Linked DNA regions of Homo sapiens: region 2 is linked to region 1. The links are contacts of gene promoters, found by promoter capture Hi-C in blood cells and fetal thymus (Javierre and others, 2016). All regions are on one chromosome and are shown on one strand. The core of a region is centred on a gene start or on the middle of the fragment in contact, and the rest is flanking DNA. Distances in the headings are between cores, read along the strand shown. Region 1 holds the start of MRPS17 (mitochondrial ribosomal protein S17). Region 2 overlaps SEC61G-DT (SEC61G divergent transcript).

Region 1 (2,595 bases), core at 36-2,535:
AAGTCTCATATTCTGGTGGTTATGATGCCACATGAATTTTGTCACAAGAACTGTCCAGGTTAGTCCAGAAACAGTTTTTTTCTTTTTCGTTCCCCCCTCCACCCAGAAACAGTTTTGTTTTGTTTTTTTTTAGATGTAGTCTCTCTCTGTCGCCCAGGCTGGAGTGCGGTGGTGCGATCTTGGCTCACTGCAAACGCCGCCTCCTGGGTTCACGCCATTCTCCTGCCTCAGCCTCCCGAGCAGCTGGGACTACAGGCGCCCGCCACAACGCCCGGCTAATTTTTTTGTATTTTTAGTAGAGATGGAGTTTCACCGTGTTAGCCAGGATGGTCTTGATCTCCTGACCTCGTGATCCGCCCGCCTCGGCCTCCCAGAGTGCTAGGATTACAGGCGTGAGCCACCGCGCCCGGCCATATGTATTTTTCTTTAGATGAAGTTTAGTTCTTTCGCCCAGTCTGGAGTGAAGTGGCGCGATCTCGGCTCACTGCAACCTCCGCCTCCCGGGTTCAAGCGATTCTTCTCCCTCAGCCTCCCGAGTAGCCGGGACTACAGGCCCGCACCACCACGCCGAGCTAATTTTTGTATTTTTAGTAAAGACAGAGTTTCACCATGTTGGCCAGACTGGTCTCGAACTCCTGACCTCAGGTGATCCGCCCGCCTCAAGCCTCCCAAAGTGCTGGGATTAAGAGGCGTGAGCCACCGCGCCCGGCTTGAATCACCATTTCAGAGATGCTTACACGTTCCCCACTACCCAACCTCTCATCTTTACAGCGCTTACAAAGCGGTAACTTTAACTTCGCCAAGCCTCACGTTCCCCTTCTGCAAAATGGGCAGGCCTATTTCGCAGGAGTGCTTTGAGAATTTGACCCACAGAACGCTCAATACCACGGACAAACGCTGGACGTTACTGGTCCCTTATCTCTCTCCACCCCGCTGGGTCGCCTCTCCCCACAGGCTCAGTGCCCAGGTAGCACTCGGCGGGGCCGCCGCGGTGTCCCCCTCCCCGGCCCAGCGACGGATGACTTGGGCTGCTTTTGAGATCAGTTCACAAGCCATTCCACCAGGCTTCGGAAAGGTTGGGGTGATTCGTGCCCTCGCCCCAGACAACCCCGAGGTCAGACGAAGCGATTCGCTCTCAGGGCTCTCACGCGAGGGTGCCTTGGGTCCCCAGCAAATCCTCCCCCGGCAGCAATACCCCGGAGCCTGCCCTCACCTCCACCACGAGACTCACCTCCGCCAAGACTATGCAGCCACCTGCCCCGGGGAGCGCCGGTCGCAGCGGGATGGCGTCACGCCGTACGCATTGGCTCAGTCCCACACTACCCCTCTCGTAGGCCGTGCATCTCCTTAGCCGTGGGCGGAGTTAAAGGCAGGACCCCGCCCACTCTCCCTTAAAGGGACCCGCGGCGGTGGCGGGGTCGGGGGCGCTGACCTCTGGTTTCCTAACGCGCGCAGCTAGTGGACAGTGGCGCAGGAGGTTTCGGACTTTTCTTTCATTCTTTTGTTTTGTTTCTTTTTTTTTTTTTTTTTTTTGAGACGGAGTCTCGCTCTGTCGCCCAGGCTGGTGTGCAGTGGCGCGATCTCTGCTCACTGCAACCTCTGCCTCCCGGGTTCAAGCGATTCTTCTGCCTCAACCTCCCAAGTAGCTGGGATTACAGGCGTGCACCACCATGCCCAGCTAATTTTTGTATTTTTAGTAGAGACAGGGTTTCACATGTTGGCCAGGCTGGTCTCGAACTCCTGGCCTTAAGTGATCCAACCACTTTGGCCTTTCAAAGTGTTGGAATTACAGGCGTGAGCCACCGTGCCTGGCCTAAAAGTGTTTTTTTTTTTTTTTTTTTTGAGACAGGGTCTCACTCTTGTTGCCCAGGCTGGAGTGCAGTGGCATGATCTTGACTCACTGCAACCTCTGCCTCCTGGGTTTAAGGGATTCTCCTGCCTCAGCCTCCTGAGTAGCTGGGACTACAGGCATCTGGCACCACGTCCAGCTAATTTTTTTTATTTTTAGTAGAGACGGGATTTCACCATGTTGGCCAGGCTGTTCTTGAACTCTTGGCCTCAAGTGATCCACCTATTTCGGACTCCCAAAGTTCTGGGATTACAGGCATGAGCCACTGTGCCTGGCTGGTCCAGATTTACCTATACTTTCCCTGACCAGTTATTGTATCAGAAGTTTTTCAAACGAAAAATATCAGTGGGGAGTGGTACTTAGCAACAAAGCTCTGAGTGCTAGGTGAGCAACTTGCTACTGGGATTTTCCTGCCTGTAGGCTATTTCAGCAGATGTAGCTATCGATACATTGAAACATACACACACGCACACACACACCTACCTTTAAACAGCAGTGGGTTTCTTTCTTTTTTGGGACGGAGGCTGTCTCTGTCGCCCAGGCTGGAGTGCACTGGCGCGATCTCGGCTCACTGCAAGCTCCGCCTCCCGGGTTCACGCCATTCTCCTGCCTCAGCCTTCCGAGTAGCTGGGACTACAGGCGCCTGCCACCAGGCCGGCTAATTTTTTGTATTTTTTTTAGTGGAGACGGGGTTTCACCGTGTAAGCCAGGATGGTCTCGATCTCCTGACCTCGTGATCCGCCCGT
Region 2 (2,595 bases), core at 54-2,553, 1.2 Mb after region 1:
TTGTAGTGGTAAACAAGATAAGCTCTGTTTCTTAATGGGGCTTATATTTTACTCAGGAGAGGCAGAAGAGCATGGCCCCAGGGACTCACTTCCTCCCTGCCTTTATATAATAGCTCAGCAGAGTACTTGGTAGGCGCTCTACCCGAGCCTAATAGGAGGACGGGTCAGTGTCTGGTTGCCAGGTTCTGGAGGACCTTCCCTTCCAACAAGGCCACTTTCTCAACTAGAGAACGTGTGTGGTCCCACAGATATCCCCTGCTCCCTTCTCTTAAATACACACCATAAATATACAGAGCATCATGGGGACATTGTCCTTCCTTGCTGGTGCCTTGGCCCTGATGCACCAGACTGTGTATATCCTGTCTAAGAGCTAAGGAGTAACACGACTTAAGGAGACCGTGCAACCCACTACTTCTTGGCTTGTTTTCCTCCAGTAAACTCTATTTTACACCTGAACTTTGTGGTGCTGGAACAAATAAATAAAGACAATTTTCAACAGTGCTAAGTGTGATGAAGGAAATGAAACGTTGCCATGGCTTACACAGGGGCTGAGGCTAAGTGAGGACTACTTCAGTTGGGACAGCCGGGAAGACCTCTTTGAGGAGACGGTGATAGAACCAAAGCAGGAATGATAAAAGGCAGCAGCTGGGTGTAGAAAGACGATTAGAGCACAGGACAAGCACGTGGGGAGGCCTGGATGATAGTAGGAGCTTGACACACGTGTGGTCGGAAAGAGCCAGAGCACAGCCAGTCAGGGGAAGAGAGGGAGCCGGGGGTCTTTGGAGGGTAGATTTGACTCCAGCTACAGCAAGCAGCTACGCGAGAAGTGAAAGTGAAGAGTTAACATGATGTGATGACCATATTTAAAAGTTTAAGTCTTGGATGTCGGGGAAAATGGCACACAGGGCCATGAATGAAGGCAGAGAACCTAGCCAGGAAGCTGTCACCATGGCCCAGCAAGAGCAAAGGGCAGAGGAGCAAACACCATTGACTGCAGTGAGAGGTAGAGGAGAGGACGGGTCCCAGATGCAGAGAGAGTGAGTGCTTTTAGTCCCTGTGTGCATGATCACAGAAAATCATGTAAAAGTTGCCACTGACAAAAAAAAAAAGAAAGAAAGAAAGAAAGAAAAAGAAAAAAATATATAGGAGGCAATAGGAAATGAAGATGGGCAAAGACTAGAGAATCTCATGTAAAACGGGAAGTCCACAAGGCCAAGCTTTGACAAAGCAAGTGGTTCTGAAACATTCTTGGAACATTGGTAACTCTCCAGCTTGCTGGCTGCGGCCCCCCAGGGGCTCTAGCAAGCTGGTGCTCACTGCAAAAGCATGGCCGAATAGTCTTCAAACCTGGATTTCAAAAAGGGAGACAGACAAGATAACCAAAGCTTGTGAGAAGCAAACTCACTGCGTTTACGGGTAAGATCAGGAACTGAGGCCTAGCTGACTTGGAGGGTTGCCACTAGAACTGATCTCAGAAACGGAGTTTATCGGGGGACCTGCCCTGATAATCACGTGGGTTCTTTTCTATTTTTCCTAAGCGTCGGCCGGCTTGAGAAATAAAGGGACAGAGTACAAAAGAGAGAAATTTTAAAGCTGGGCGTCCTGGGGAGACATCACACGTTGGTAGGATCCATGATGCCCCACAAGCCACAAAAACCAGCAAGTTTTTATTAGGGATTTTCAAAAGGGGAGGGAGTGTGTGAATAGGTATGGGTGACAGACATCACGGACTTAACAGGGTAATAGAATATCACAGGGCAAGTGGAGGCAGGGCGAGATCACAGGACCACAGCACCCAGGCGAAATTAAAATTGCTAATGAAGTTTCAGGCACCATTGTCATTGATAACATCTTATCAGGAGACAGGGTTTTGTGATCAACTGGTCTGATCAAAATTTATTAGGTGGGAATTTCCTCTTCCTAATAAGCCTGGGAGCACTATGGGAGACTGGAGTATATTTCATCTCTGCAGCCTCGACCATAAGAGACAGGTGCACCTGGCGGGGGGGCTGTTTATAAGCCTATACCTCCAGGCGCACATTCTCTTTCTCAGGGACGTTCCATGCTGAGAAAAAGAATTCAGAGATATTTCTCCCATTTGCTTTTGGAAGAAGAGAAATATGGTTCTGTTCTGCCCAGCTCACCGGCGGTCAAGAGTTTAAGGTTATCTCTCTTATTCCCTGAACAATTGCTGTTATCCTGCTCTTTTTTCAAGGTGCTCAGATTTCATATTGCTCAAACACACATGCTGTACAATTTGTGCAGTTAACGCAATTATCACATGGTCCTGAAGCGAAATACATCCTCCTTGGCTGACAGGATTAAGAGATTAAAGTAAAGACAGGCATAGGCAAGCACAAGGGTATTGACTGGGGAAGTGATAAGTGTCCATGAAATCTTCACAATCCACGTTCTTCTGCCATGGCTTCAGCCGGTCCCTCCGTTTGGGGTCCCTGACTTCCTGCAACAGGAGTTAGTCACAAGATTCCAGGGAAACCACAAACAAGAGGTGGGAAGCAAATTAATGACAGAGTGAAGCCCTCTGTGTCAGGCGCTTTGCACACATTATCCCTGGTAGTCCTCAAAAGCAGCCCT

Evidence for each region. The method cuts DNA at HindIII sites, captures the fragments that hold promoters and counts their contacts. A CHiCAGO score of 5 or more calls a contact.
Region 2: a fragment that was not itself captured here is called in contact with the fragment with the promoter of MRPS17 in region 1 in 5 of 17 cell types (total CD4 T cells, total B cells, naive CD8 T cells and 2 more); the score reaches 7.6 in total CD4 T cells.

The regions. Positions count from the first base shown.
Region 1 is chr7:55,950,567-55,953,161 of GRCh38, reverse strand. It overlaps MRPS17 (mitochondrial ribosomal protein S17), which reads right to left and starts at 1,285. Exons shown (of 3, transcript NM_015969.3): 1 at 1,232-1,285. RefSeq lists an enhancer at 1,173-1,232. The HindIII fragment of the contact is 16,512 bases long and covers 1-2,595 here.
Region 2 is chr7:54,775,450-54,778,044 of GRCh38, reverse strand. The region is part of intron 1 of SEC61G-DT (SEC61G divergent transcript); the gene reads right to left. Among named protein-coding and RNA genes, the nearest start is that of SEC61G-DT, 17 kb to the right of the region's middle. The HindIII fragment of the contact is 168 bases long and covers 1,220-1,387 here.